3 separate regions of the Homo sapiens genome follow, and regions 2 and 3 are each linked to region 1. The links are contacts of gene promoters, found by promoter capture Hi-C in human tissues and cell types (Jung and others, 2019). All regions are on one chromosome and are shown on one strand. Each heading gives the region's core, a stretch centred on a gene start or on the middle of the fragment in contact. The rest is flanking DNA. Distances are from core to core; before and after follow the strand shown.

The links. The method cuts DNA at HindIII sites, captures the fragments that hold promoters and counts their contacts. A contact is called where the count stands out against the background at its distance.
Region 2: a fragment that was not itself captured here is called in contact with the fragment with the promoter of TFAP4 in region 1 in 1 of the 25 tissues and cell types used here (dorsolateral prefrontal cortex).
Region 3: a fragment that was not itself captured here is called in contact with the fragment with the promoter of TFAP4 in region 1 in 1 of the 25 tissues and cell types used here (dorsolateral prefrontal cortex).

The regions. Positions count from the first base shown.
Region 1 is chr16:4,270,835-4,275,703 of GRCh38, forward strand. TFAP4 (transcription factor AP-4) reads right to left here and starts at 2,189. Exons shown (of 7, transcript NM_003223.3): 1 at 1,824-2,189. The coding sequence starts at 1,912. RefSeq lists enhancers at 406-1,382, 924-1,113, 2,014-2,063, 2,360-3,335 and silencers at 1,194-1,353, 1,714-1,763, 2,484-3,133. The HindIII fragment of the contact is 15,415 bases long and covers 1-4,869 here.
Region 2 is chr16:3,603,570-3,608,438 of GRCh38, forward strand. SLX4 (SLX4 structure-specific endonuclease subunit) reads right to left here. Exons shown (of 15, transcript NM_032444.4): 2 at 4,861-4,869; 3 at 2,905-3,129. Among named protein-coding and RNA genes, the nearest start is that of SLX4, 5.6 kb to the right of the region's middle. The HindIII fragment of the contact is 4,547 bases long and covers 517-4,869 here.
Region 3 is chr16:3,739,116-3,743,984 of GRCh38, forward strand. It overlaps CREBBP (CREB binding lysine acetyltransferase), which reads right to left. Exons shown (of 31, transcript NM_004380.3): 24 at 1,284-1,434; 25 at 463-609. Among named protein-coding and RNA genes, the nearest start is that of TRAP1, 24 kb to the left of the region's middle. The HindIII fragment of the contact is 9,134 bases long and covers 1-4,869 here.

The DNA.
Region 1 (4,869 bases), core at 939-3,438:
CTCCGCGCTGCCCAGCCCAGCCCTGCAGCAGCAGCAACCCCAGGACAAGGGTTCAAGTTCCAGTTCCACCACCTGCTGTAGTGGTCCCTTCTCCAGTCTCTGTGTCCGCCTCTTTAAGCGGAATCAAAAGACACTTTTGACTCATAGAAAGATTATGACAACTCAGTGAGAAAATTCTAGCAAAGTGAGTCCCCAGAACATAAAAAGAGCTCAAGAATTTTTTTTACTTATTATTACTGGGCCCTCCAGGTGGGCCTCGTGCAAGGGCCAGCCCTCGGGGCATCCCTGCCAGCTGCCAAACCCATCAACTGGCCCAAGTCTAGGTATTGACTGGGAACTTCAGAGTAGCCTTAAGGTGGGGACCCCCGGGGCAGAGGGTTGGGCAGGAGTGTCTACACGTGTGCAGCAACCTTCCCTCCAGGCCGGATTCTGCAGGCGCTAGCGTCCACCAGCCTGTGCCACACCGGCGGGCTCCTCCTCCCTCAATCCCCGCCCAGACTGCCTCGGGCGGCAGAGCACGTGGCTCCAGCCCTGGGGAGCCATTTCGCTCCTGGAGCAGCGCGGCAGGAAAGGGGCCACAGGTCCCAAACTTGCGCACGCCGTAGAACGCCCACCTCCCCCACACCACGCCCAGGGGGTCGTTCAAAATGCAGATGTCCGGGCCCCAGCGATCAGAGTTCCAGGCATGTGCATTTTAAGAAGTGTGCGGGGTGGTTTGGCTGTGTGTGGTCCTTGAGTCCATCACCCTTTGGGTTTAGAGCAACCTAGGACCAAAGCTTGCAAAGTGGCTTCTGGGGAGGCCTGCGGACCTCGGGCCACCCACCCGGCTGGGGGACCCGACGCTTTCGGTTTACGGCAGGGGGGAGGGGCGTTGGATGGGAAAGTTTGCAGAGGAAACCCACGTGCGGCGGGAAGCTGCCCTGCGAGGCTAGGGGCGGCCTCAGGTGTCCCTTCCCCAAATGGCCTGCCCACCTGGCCTGCCTTGCCCATCGTGCCCGCGGGGGCCGAGCTTTGTGCAGGGAAAGCGTGGCCCAGGAGCGCCTACAAATCCCACAATGCTGCACCAGCAGGACACGGAGAACTACAGCTCCCGCGAGGCCGCGCGCAGAGGTCCGCCTACTCCAAGAGGGCTGCAGAGTCACGTCCAGGCCTCGCTAGTAAACAGCGCCCGGGCGCGGGCGGGCGAGCGAGCGGCAGCCAACGTGCCCCGGGCCGCGGCGCCCCTACCGGCCGCGCGGGCCCCTCGGGGTCCGCCCACCCCCAACACCCACACGCGAGCACGCCCCCGACCCCGCTGCAGCCCCGCTCTGCAAACACGCACAGTGCCCGGCTCCCCGCCCCCACCCCGCGCCGGGAGCCGCGGCATGGCTGCATTGTAGCCGCCCTAGCTACACCCCCACGCGCGCCCCGGGCCCCCAGACCCCCTTGGATGGGGACGACCTCAGATCCCGAGGAAGGAAGGAGAGGAAGGAAGCCGCCGCAGGAGGGGGAAAGAGGAAGCGCGGGGGGGAAGGCCACCAGCACCAAGCATGGCCGGGACTGCTGCAGAACCACGTGGGTCTGTTTGCAATTTACAAACGTCGCGACTCGCCCGCCTGCAGCGGACAAAAGTGGCCGGGGCCGCTTGGGGCCCCCATGCTCCAAGGAAGGAGGGTCCCGGGGCGGCGCGGACCCGGCGTGTGGGGCTGCAGCCGTCCCGGCAGCTAAGAAAGGCTAGCGGGGTCGGCGGCGCGGGCCATGCGTGCGCACACGCGCGCCCGCCCGGGCGGGCTGGCCGGGGGCTGCAGTGGTAGGAAGGGGGTGGGGGGAGGAGGAGTACACACCTACAGAGCCCTCCTATCACTTCTTTCTCTGTTTTCCTGAAATGTTGCAAAGAGGGCACCTTCTGAGTGGGCACCATGAAATACTCCATAGCGATCGGCCCCCCTCCTCTGCACGAGCCAGGTCCCGCGATCAGCCGGAGAATGCAAGATGGAAATCCGAATCAAAGGGCAGCGCCGGACGGAGGTGCAGAATCGGCCGGTCCCAGATGCTGGCGGCGGCGGCGGCGGCGAGGGGAGGGAGGCGGGCGGGAGGGGCGGGAGGGAGGTCTCTCCGGCCTGCCTCCCCGGGCGTGTGTATGTGTGTGTGTGTGTGTGTGTGTGTGTGTGTGTGTGTGTGTGTGTGTGTTTGCAGCTGATCAGATGTCTGTTTCAAGGCGGGAAACAGCTGGTGAAAACTCAGCACTCCCCCGGCCTCCTTCCGCGGAGTAAGGAATTGCATGTAAACAAAGGACTATTTGCAGCGCCCCCCGGGCGGCGCGAGGCCGGGGCGAGAGGGGCGCGGGCCCCCGGGGACCGGCTGCAACCGGGGTCTGCAGGCCTCTCGCGGGGCGCAGGGGGCCGGGGGCCGCGGGCGGGCTTGCGGGGCGCGGCGTGAATGGAGCGAGCTGCGGCCGAGCTACATGCGCCACTATGGGTGATGAGGTCCATCAGCTGACAGGTTGGCAAGCGTTGCAAAAAAAAAAAAAAAAAGGCCAGCCACCGCGCAGGGAGCCCAGCCCGTGCAGCCCGGAGTCCAGCAGCGACTGGCCCAGAGCAGGGTCCGCGCGCTCGGCCGGCCCGCAGGGAGGAGGGGGCGCGGCTGGGTCGGGCGTGCAGCGGCAGCAAGGAAGGCGGCCTGGGGTTCGCGCTTGGGGCTTCTGCTTTTTCACCATTGCAGCTGCACGGAGCGGAGCCTCTCCGGTGTGCTCCCTTCGAGCCGAGCCCAGGGCCCCCTGGAAACTTGCGTCACAGCCACCGCTTCCCACATGTAACTCGGGGCTGACTTCGGAGGCCGGCCAGCTTCCTCCCTCCCGCCTTGCTTAGCTGGCCGCACGGCCGGGACTCCGGATCCTGGGAATCTTGGACCCGGCGACGGGACGGCAAAGGGCGCCTCGGATGCTGGGGCCGCCCTAGGAAGCCGGGGGCCCCGGCAGGGAGGGGAGGGTGGAGGCGGGCCTGAACGGCAGCGGCCCCCGGGCGCAGGCTGCCAGCGCTGCGGGGAGGTCTGCTGGTTGCTGCCGGGTCCCCTGCTATTCCCCCAGACCCGCACTGTTCCCTCCGCGGGCTGAAGGCTGCAGCTTCCCATTCATAACAAAGCCCGTGTGGGACTTGCCCCTCCGCCAGGATGCGCTCCCCAAGAGGGGGTGACGACTTGGGGCAGGGACGGGGACCCTGGCGGCGAGCTTCCGTCCTCCGCTCGCACGCCGCACCTTCCGGCCCCAGGCCCTCCCCTGGCTCCTGGAGGGTTGGCTCCTGGCTCAGGAAGCCCACGCCTGCCTTGGAATGTCCTGGATCCTGCCCACCGCCTTCCAGGTTCCGCCTAAATCGCGCCTCCTAATTTGACTTATTCCTACTAGTAACAATAGTTACTGTTATTATTGGGAAATATTGTTATTAGATGTTGCCAGCACCCGGTGGATGCCGAGCAGTTTTGCTTACACGCTCTCCAATCCTTGAAGCAACCTGTTAGGCAGTTTCTCTAAGGAGAGATCCCAGACCACTTGACCAAAAAAAAGTCTCTGGAAGGCTTACTATGTTTCTACTTAAAAAAAAAAAAAAAAAAAAAAAACTTTCGGCTGGGCGCGTTGGCTCACGCCTGTAATCTCAGCACTTTGGGAGGCTGAGGCGGGTGGATCACCTGAGGTCGGGAGTTCGAGACCAGCCTGACCAACATGGAGAAACCCCGTCTCTACTAAAAATGCAAAATTAGCCGGGGGCCTGGTGGCACATGCCTGTAATCTCAGCTACTCGGGAGGCTGAAGCAGGAGAATCGCTTGAACCCGGGAGGTGGAGGTTGCAGTGAGCCAAGATCATGTCATTGCACTCCAGCCTGGGCAACAAGAGTGAAACTCCGTCTCAAAAAAAAAAAAAAAAAAAAACCTTTTTACTGTTTTTCAACAAATAGAGATAGGAGTCTCACTGTGTTGCCCAGCCTGGTCTTGAACTCCTGGGACTCAAGGAATCCTACCTCTACCTCCCAAATTGCTGGGATTACAAGCATGAGCCATGGATGGCCCTGGTGGGAAGCCTATTTTTAACTGCCCTTAGTGAGCAAGCTATTCTTTTTTTTGTTTTGTTTTGTTTTGTTTTTTAAGACGGAGTCTTGCTTTGTCACCCAGGCTAGAGTGCAGTGGCACGATCTCGGCTCACTGCAACCTCCGCCTCCTGGGTTCAAGTGATTCTTCTGCCTCAGCCTCCCAAGTAGCTGTGGTTACAGGCACACACCACCAAGCCCGGCTAATTTTTGTATTTTTAGTACAGATGGGATTTTGCCCTGTTGGCCAGGCTGGTCTCAAACTCCTGACCTCAGGCGATCTGCCCACCCCGGTCCCCCAAAGTGCCAGGATTACAGGCATCAGCCACCTCACCCAGCAGTGAGCAAGCTATTCTGGTGCATTACTGTCTCCTTATCCTCTCATTTTGCACATGGGAAGACAGAAGCTCACAGCTGCAGACAAGAATGCACTCAGGAGTGCTGGCTGCAAAAAGCCCTGGTTCTTTATATCACACTCATCCTCCCACCTGCCACACCTCACCTCTGATCAGGGCCTTATTTTGTACTTGCTTTTGTTATTTTCCAGAGCAAAGCATTCTGTCATACTTAGTTATATGTGGCCTTCAGAGTGTTCTCTGGCTGTCTCCCTGGTTCAATTTTTTTTTTTTTTTTTGAGACGGAGTCTCACACTGTCGCCCAGGCTGGAGTGCAGTGGCGCGATCTCGGCTCACTGGAACCTCTACCTCCCAGGTTTAAGCGATTCTCCTGTTCTCCTGCCTCAGCCTCCCAAGTAGCTGAGATTACAGGCGCCTGCCACCAGGCCTGGCTAATTTTTGTGTATTTTTAGTAGAG
Region 2 (4,869 bases), core at 1,540-4,039, 670 kb before region 1:
CTGCAGTGAAATCTGCAATGCAATGCCAAGATCCTGCATACTTATTAGCTGTAGGTCTGCCGATAATGGTTTCTTCCTATTTCTTTTCCTTTTGTATATTTTCATCAGAGATGAGAATCCATATTGTTTTGGGGATGGAGAACAGGAGCACCTGGCATTATTACGCTTATTGGGCCGGTGCCACACCAAGTACACAGCAGCTATGGGGCACTGTCGCCACCCTGTCTCACCTGCAGCCAATGAGCCTCTAATCTACTCAGAGTGGGGCAACCCAATGGTTAGAGGAAGGAGTTAACGATCCCATAAAGAAATAAATCCAGAAAGTGGGAAATCTTATAATACAATTAGCCTAGCCTCTTCAAAAACTCAGTGTCATAGGGCTGGGTGTGGTGGTTCACACCTGTAATCCTAGCACTTTGGGAGGCTGAGGAGGGCAGATCCCCTGAGCTCAGGAGTTCAAGACCAGCCTGGGCAACATGGTGAAACCCCATTTCTAGTAAAAATACAAAAAAATTAGCCGGGTGTGGTGGTGGGTGCTTGTAATCCCAGCTACTCAGGAGGCCGAGGCACGAGAATAGCTTGAACCTGGGAGGCAGAGGTTGCAGTGAACCGAGATTGTGCCACTGCACTCTAGCCAAGCCTCTGTCAAAAAAAAAAAAAAAAAAAGTCAGTGTCATGGAAAACAAAAGGAAATGGGGGACTATTCTAGAATCTAGACCTTAGGATACTGCTGAGCTACAGCAATATGCAGTGTGTGAACTTACTGAATCCTTGTTCAGAAAAAAAAGAAACCAGCTACAAAAAATAACCTTGAGACAACCAGGGAAATTTGAGTTTGAACTGGACGCCAGGCACTATTATGGAATTAAGCGTGCTAATGGTATTGTGGTTATGCAGCAGAATCTAGGGGTAAAGGATCCTAATGTCTATAATTTACCTTCAGATAATATGGAAGAAAAATATGTACGCTTGGCTAGGCACGGTGGCTCACGTCTGTAATCCCAGCACTTTGGGAGACTGAGGTGGACAGATCACAAGGTCAGGAGTTCCAGAACAGCCTGGCCGGCATGGTGAAACCCCAACTCTACTAAAAATACAAAAATTAGCTGGACGTGGTGGTGCATGCCTGTAGTCCCAGCTTCCTGGAAGCTGAGGCAGGAGAATGGCTTGAACCCAGGAGGTGGAGTTTGCAGTGAGCCGAGATTGCGCCACTGCACCCCAACCTGGGAGACAGACCAAGACTCCATCTCAAAAAAAAAAAAAAATGTATATTTATAAAGACATAAACAAATGGCCAAATGTTAACATTTGTTAAATCTAGATTGAGGTATAGGGGATTAGGGGATTCATTGTAATTTTTTTTTTTTTTTTTTTGAGACAGGGTCTCACTCTGTTGCCCTGGAGTGCAATGATGCAATCACAGCTCACTGCAGCTCAACGTCCTGGGCTCAAGCAATCCTCCCACCTCAGCCTCCCGAGTAGCTGGGACTACAGTTGTGCACCATCATGCCCAGCTAATTAAAAAAAAATTTTTTTTTGAGTCAGAGTCTTGCTCTGTTGCCCAGGCTGGAGTGCAGTGGTGCAATCTCGGCTCACTGCAAGCTCTGTCTCCCAGGTTCACGCCATTCTCCTGCCTCAGCCTCCCGAGTAGCTGGGACTACAGGCACCCACCACCATACCTTGCTAATTTTTTGTATTTTTCATAGAGATGGGGTTTCACTGTGTTAGCCAGGATGGTCTCAATCTCCTGACCTTGTGATCTGCGCACCTCGGCCTCCCAAAGTGCTGGCATTACAGGCGTGAGCCACCACGCCTGGCCCCTAAAATTTTTTTGTAGAGATGGGGGTCTCACTATGTTGTCCAGGCTGGTCTCGAACTTGTGACCTCAAGTAGTCCTCCTGCCTTGGCCTCCCAAAGTTTTGGGATTATAGGCATGAGCCATCATGCCTGGCTTCATTGTAATTAAAACAACAACAACAAAAAAACCTTTTCTGAAAGGAAGAGTTCTTTGTGAATACTGAGGGTTATCTTTTTAAAAGGAAAAAACTGAAAGGGAAAGCTTTCATAATAAAAAGTCATAATTTTTAAAAAAAGGAGGCCAGGCACAGTGGCTCACGCCTGTAATCCCAGCACTTTGGGAGGCCAAGGCGGGTGGATCACGAGGTCAGGAGATCGAGACCATCCTGGCTAACAAGGTGAAACCTTGTCTCTACTAAAAATACAAAAAATTAGCCAGGCGTGGTGGTGGGAGCCTGTAGTCCCAGCTACTCGGGAGGCTGAGGCAGGAGAATGGCGTGAACCTGGGAGGTGGAGCTTGCAGTGAGCTAATATCGTGCCACTGCACTCCAGCCTGGGTGACGGAGCGAGACTCCATCTCAAAAAAAAAAAAAAAAAAAAAAAAGGAAGAGGGCCAGGTGCAATGGTTCACGCCTGTAATCCCAGCACTTTGGGGAGCTGAGGTAGGCAGATCACTTGAGGTCAGGAGTTCGAGACCAGCCTGGCCAACTTGGCGAAACCCTGTCTCTACTAAAAATACAAAAATTGGCCAGGTGTGGTGGCACACGTCTGTAATCCCACTGGCTGGGGCAAGATAATTGCTTGAACCTGGGAGGCGGAGGTTGCAGTGAGCTGAGATCATGTCACTGCACTCCAGCCTGGGTGACAGAGCAAGGCTCTGTCTCAGAAAAAAAAACAAAACGGTACCTTATCAAGGAAGCTAGGTGGGAAATGATCCCAGAGACTCTTCATTCTCTGGCTGGATCCAGTGAAGTGGCAAAGGTAAAACATCAAGCAGAGAGCCTATCCACAGAAGAAACTCAACAAATGCTGATTCCTTCCCGCCTCCCTTCCTCAGAGTTGTATTAACTTATCTCTGTGTGGAAGACAGAAACACACTCATCATACCATTCCCCGCCATCATCTCCTCTTGAGGATCCTTTGGGACATTTTCTTCCCGCGCAGCCTCGAGGGAGCACTCTTCTGAAGCGTGTCTCAAACGCTCGGGGTCTGCTCTCTTGAACTGCTGCATTCGCTGTAGGACCAATTGTGCTGTGCGGGGTTTGGAGGGACTTGGCACTGCTGTTGTCAAACAGGAAGGAGGAGGCTGGGAGTCGCTGTTGGGCACATTCTCTGGCAAGGAGGAAAATATTCACAACCATCTGTTGTAGCTGGAGAAATAAAAGACTTTTCTACCAGATACAGGTTAGACGCAAGTTTCAAGAGTCCTTTATCAACTAGTTTAGGTTTGACTCACAAATGTGAAGAGGACTGGTTGCTTGTTGGTAACCTCTTTGTTTATGGCAATATAGACATAAATATCAATAACAGGAGGGGAATGGGATGTGACTGCTAATGAGCATGGGGTTTATTTTTAGGATGATAAAACTGTTCTAACGTTAGGTAGTGGTGGTGGTTGGACAAGTCTGTGAATATACTAAAAACCACTGAACCATACCCTTTTAAATGGTGAATTTTATGGAATATCAATTATACCCCAATAAAGCTATTATTAAAGAAATATTAATGACAAAGGTTTATGTCCTAGATCAGTTCTTCTTTAACTTGGGATCCACGGATGATCTTCAGTGGGGATCCATGAACCCCATGAAGTTGTGTGCCAGTTTTGCAGATACGCGCATGGATACGTGTTTTGGGGGAACCATGCATAGATTTCATCCGACTGGCAAAGAGCACGAGAGACCAGTAAAGTTGGTGAGGCAACACTGCTGATGCCTTCCAGTAGTCTATGCGACCTGAGACTCTACCACCACTCTACTGAGAGGTTATTAAGATCAGGAAGTGAGGGCAAAGGAAATTTAGAAACAGAACTCAGGAGCTCAGAGAGCCCATGGTGTATTATATATGCAAGGGTAGTTTTCAGTTTTGCATGAAGAATGTGTAGTAAGCATATAGCTCAGTATACCAAGGGCAGCAGGGCAAGAAAACTGCTTTAAACAGTTAAAAAATTATCCAGGCACGGTGGTGGGTGCCTGTGGTCCCAGCTACTCGGGAGGCTGAGGCAGGGAGGACTGCTTGAACCTGGGAGGTCAAGGCTGCAGTAAGCTATGATAGCACCACTGCACTCCAGCCTGGGTGAGAGACCAAGATCCTGTCTCTAAAAACTAAGTAAGTAAATAAATCAATAACAATAACAAAGGAAAAGATTAAAAGGTCTTCAGAGAGAGAAAGAAAGAACCTGAAGATTCTCCTGGGACTTGAGCCCACACAGAGTCCTCATGCGGCCCTCTCAGCAGCCTATCCAAATTGGCTGGCCCAGTCCAACTTACCCACTTTGGAATAAATTCAAGAAAACAAGAGAAGCAGCATTATTGTGTTGTTTGTGTAACTCATGTCAATCATATAACAGAATTTCATAGGAAATTCTGAAAGAGCAGAGGACTCCAAACACAATCATGTGAAAAATTCACACGGGTTATGTTTTTCTTGACTGTTGTTTAAACCAGGAGTCAGCCGGGCGCAGTGGCTTACGCCTGTAATCCCAGCACTCTGAGAGGCTGAGGCACGAGGATTGCTTGAGTCCAGGAGTTCAAGACCAGCCTGGGCAACATAGTGAGACCTCCAGCTCTAAATTTTTTTTTAAGCTTAAAAATTAAAAAATAAAAACAAACCAAAAGTTAGCAAACTACGGTCATGTGGCTGGCTGCCTGTTTTTGTAAATAAAGTTTTACTGGCATATGGCCATGCCTGTTCATTTACATATTGTCCACGCCTGCTTTCTCACTATGACAGCAGAGTTGAGTAGTTGTGACAGAGTCTGTGTGGCCTACAAAGCCAAAATATTTACGATCTGGCCCTTTCCAGGAAGTTTTCCAGCCCCTGGTTTAAAAGAGTACAAATTACCTCTGGTTT
Region 3 (4,869 bases), core at 279-2,778, 530 kb before region 1:
TGCTGCCAATCAGTTAAATGGAATTCAGTTTTCGTCACTGAACAAAAGGATGAATGGCACCACTCGGCACAGAGAGCCACAGTTAAGGCAAACTGAGAAAAGCCACTTTTAGTTCCTTCTTGCCCAGATTCCTGACTGCACATGAAGCCCTCGTGGCAGAGCTACTTCCTCTGTTCAGGTGCCAGGCTGTCCCATCCCAACTCCCCAGGTTTACCTGCGTTAGGTAAGAGCGGGTCCCACACAGACTCGCCACACAAAACACGCTCACTGCAGTCATCTCAACAGTTCATTTCCCGCTAGTTTAATGGAAAACAAAACTAACTACTTTGGTTAGTTAATTGTGGTTTCATTTACTTTAATCCCCTATGAAGGCTCACAGGCTCCTCTGGGACACTTAAGAGCCCTGGTCTATCCTAACACGGCTCACTGAATGACACGCCCTGGAAGGAGCTGGAAAACTACCTCGTGTTTGGAGGGGGGCAATCAGAGCCGTATTCTTGGACGTGCATTCCAAAAAAGCAGACATCCACGCCGTCAATTTCCTCAAAAGCAAACAGAGCTTTGGTTCGATATGGGAAAGATTCAGACATTTCCCCAGAATCCACAAACCTGAAACAAAAGCCAGAGCCGGACATTTACAAAGGCTGTTGCTGACAAGGTGCTTCTGCACACCAGGCCTGCTCCTCTAACTCTGGCCACTGCAGATGAGCGGAGGCATGGCCACCTCCTCAGACCGTGGCCTGGAGTCCTCCCTATGGGCCAGTCAGCCCCGGAGCAGGGAGCACTTGCTTTCTGACCAGTTTCCCTCACTAGGGAACTGCACCTCTGTGAATGAAATACGGGATTCTGAGGAGGACTGGCTATACAGCAGTCCCCCTTATCCACGGGGTGTATGTTCCAAGACCAGCAGTGGATGCTGGAAACCATGGACAGTATCAACCTCTATGCGTTTTTTCTTATACACCTGTACTGGTCACAAAATTTTAATTTATAAATTAGGCACAGCAAGAGATTAACAAGAATAAGTAATAATAAAATAAGAAAATTATAAACAGTATACTATAATATGGTATGTGGTCTCTCTCTCAAAATAGCTTACTGCACTGTATAGGGTAACTAAAACCCCAGACAGGACAACCGCAGCTGAGGGGGCTACTGCACGCATTCGCTGCTGCAAAGTCTTGGAAGGATGACCTCAAACTCAAGAGCTTTGCAGAGAGCAGGCTCTGGCAAGCGGGCGTGGGGACTGCTCGCAGAGCACTGTAGAGAGCAGGCACACTGACCGTGACTTCATCCCGGGCTTGACCTCCACCGTCTTGTCTGAGCTGGCCACCACTCGGACAAAAACCTCCCCGGCTTCAGGGTGATTCTGGCGCCGCAAAAATTTGTTCACTCGGTCTTCCAAGTGGTTTCCCAGTCTTGTGGTCTGCAGCCCTAGGAAGTCCAGAAGGAGCAGGTGAGAGGGCTTCAACAGCACTGCTGAGACAGTGACTGAGACTAGAGAATCCACCCCACTTTGCAGCACAGGCTGATATTTTAAAGGACTAATGTTCTCCAAACACGGAAGAAATCTAATCTGTCCTGTGACACGAGTGTTATATAAAGGAAAGGTGGACTCTGGGATCTCAGGCACTCCACTCCTGAAAACCGTTTACGTGCCCAGGTAACCTGCATCTTTTTCTAACAGTATGGGGCAGAAGACCTATAGCGGTGGGTCCAAAATTGACAGGGGCTCTAGGGCGGAGCAGATGGATGTTTCCCTGTTGCTTCCCGCTTTCCCTGGAGGGCAGAGATGGCACACCCTCAGTGGGCTCCTCCTGCCCAGCTCTGAGGAGAAAGTCCCTACTATGGAGTCTGACGTGAACGTGGAACGTTCTAGGGCTAACCAATTAAGCTCTGGCCAGAGCCTGTCCGGTGCCTCAGGAGCTGGCAAAGTATTGGTGTCCAAGCCTGCCCTGAGCCATCGCCTCGTGCGGTGCACGAATGAAGTTTCCGAGCCTTGGCGAGGGCAGCCTTTCCTGGGCTCACCTCCCCGCCGCCACCCCTCCTCACCCAGGGCCAGCCCCGGGAGGGCTACCGTCACAGGAGCTAGCCAGAGGCAGGACATTACTTCAGGACAGAGAACGCCTCATATACAGGTTAAAAAACTATAAGGGAAAGTTGCAAAAGGTTCTTAGTGATTACGTATAGACAATGAGATTTTAAAAGATGTTTTCTTCTTTGCTGGCTTTTAAATATTTCCTACATTAGTGAGAAATAGGAAAATTGGGAATTTTCGAAGATTCCTTAGCGAGCTAGAAAATTTAGACCAAACTTCTAAATTTCATTTTTCTGCAATAAACAAACCAGTGGTGCTGATTTTTGGATAAGTTGTACCTGAATAAAAATGATTTAAAAAGAAAAATGTGGCCGGGCACAATGGCTCATGCCTGTAATCCCAGCACTTTGGGAGGCCGAGGCAGGTGGATCACCTGAGGTCAGGAGTTCAAGACCAGCCTGACCAAAACGGAGAAACCCCATCTCTACTAAAAATACAAAATTAAGCTGAGCGCAGTGACTCACACCTGTAATCCCAGCTCTTTGGGAGGCTGAGGCGAGTGGATCACCTGAGGTCAGGAGTTCGAGACCAGCCTGGCCAACATGGTGAAACCCCCGTCTCCACTAAGAATGCAAAATTAAGTCGGGAGCGATGGCTCATGCCTGTAATTCCAGCATTTTGGGAGGCCGAGGCAGGCGGATCACGAGGTCAGGCGATCGGGACCATCCTGGCTAACACGGTGAAACCCCATCTCTACTAAAAAACAGAAAAAATTAGGACTACAGGCATGGTGGCGGGCGCCTGTAGTCCCAGCTACTCGGGAGGCTGAGGCAGGCGAATGGCGTGAACCCGGGAGGCAAGAGCTTGCAGTGAGCCGACATCACGTGACTGCACTCCAGTGTGGGCGACAGAGCGAGACTCTGTCTGCACAAACAAAACAAAACAAAAAAAAAACAAAAAAACCCCCCAAAAAAACAAACAAAAAAAACTCTTCCAGAGTAACTTCGCTATTTGACACCTGTGATCCACACATGGCTGCATACTCCAGAGGTGGTCTCAGACAGCACAGGGGTCTAGGCGCAGGCCGTGCTCACTGCGGTGCACTCTGCGCAACCTTCCTCACAGTGCTGCCTCCTTTTCTGTTATCACTCGATTTGGCCACTGTTCCTACTTTTTCATCACTCCTTGCCATTGCTGCAGTTATGTCCTTGTATGTGCCGTTATGCATATGTGCAAATATTTTTATAGGATACATGTGTGAAAGTAGACTTGCTAAATCTAAAAATGAACACTTTAAATTGTGCCCCTCGCTTTCTGGCATTCAACTTGTATCTTCATCCATGGCGCATGACAGGGGCCTTTTGTGCCTTTTCCTTTCTCATCTCTGGGCTGTATCTTTTTAAGGAAGGCTTTTCATAACTCAACACAATAAAATTATTATCTTACTTTTATCCTGAATGCATCTGCAGTTTTGTTTACTTTTCTCGCTTTTTAATCTACCTGAATTTGGTTTTGCATATGGTGTATGCGAAGGAGATGGTTTTCAATGCAAGATTAAGGAAGCATACCTTTACTCTGTGATCAGACACCACAACGCCTGTGCTGACACACGCTCACACTGAGAGTAGAGCTACCTCTAGTCTCCTAGGCCCTTTTCTCCAGTAATGTTCCATTTCTAGATCTTGGGCTCATCTACCGAATGCCCACGGGTCTTTCTGGATGCTGCGGTGGGAGGGGGCTGGACCTGCTCTGGGGCCACTTGTGCCATTCCGCCCAGTCACCTCCTGCCCCTTTCAGGCAATGACTGTTCTACGGAGGCCTAGTTCTCTGGGTAATTCTGTTTTGGCTACTGAGCCTCTGGCCCAGGGAAGAACTTCCAATTTGCTCAAATGCATTAGCGAACTCACTCAGAGTGAATCCTCTGAAGCAGGGCCTCTCAAATGGAGGCAACTGTGCCCCTCCAGGGGACATCTGGCAATGTCTGGAGACATTTCTGACAGACGTAATGAATTGCTGAGGAAGGTGTTACTGGCACTGAGTGGGCAGAGGCCAGGCATGCTGCTAAAATCCTGTAATGCGCAGGACAGCCCCTAAAACAGAGGGTTACCTGGCCTGAAATGTCAACAGTGCCTCAGTTGAGAAACCGAGCTAAGGAAAAGTATTACAATAGTTTATCAATGAGTGATATTTCACAAGTTTTTAACAGAGGCAGTGTAAGCTATTGCATAACTTTGGATGTTGGTTAACAACAGAGTTTGAACTTGAATTAAGACTCAGTCTCAAGTCTACAGGGTGGCTTCCTCCTCCCCTTCCCCCAGTGCATGGTCCATCCTAGCATTTCCATCTCTCTTCTACTCTGAGCTCCCCAAATGACCCTGGTTCTATTGGGGATCTCCTGAGCAACATGCTAGTCACCTGTCCTGCCAGAGAAAGGTGACAGCTGTAGGGAGCAGCTGGCAAGTCAATGTTAGAACACTGCTGCAGTTGCCGTTCTTGTGTGGGTTTGCTGGTTAACTCGGCAAAAGGCCAGCCTGGCGCGTCAAGCTGCAGAAGGCCATCCCAAGACTTGAGAATTGACTCTATAAAGATTAAATAACCATAAACTTTTGATAACAATGCAATGTGGTCTTAAAAAAAAAAGTCAGCCGGGCGCGGTGGCTAATGGCTGTAATCCCAGCACTTTGGGAGGCCGAGGCGGGCGGATCACAAGGTCAAGAGATTGAGACCGTCCTGGCCAACATGGTGAAACCCGTCTCTACTAAAAATACAAAAATTAGCTGGGCAAGGTGGCGGGCGCCTGTAGTCCCAGCTACTCGGGAGGCTGAGGCAGG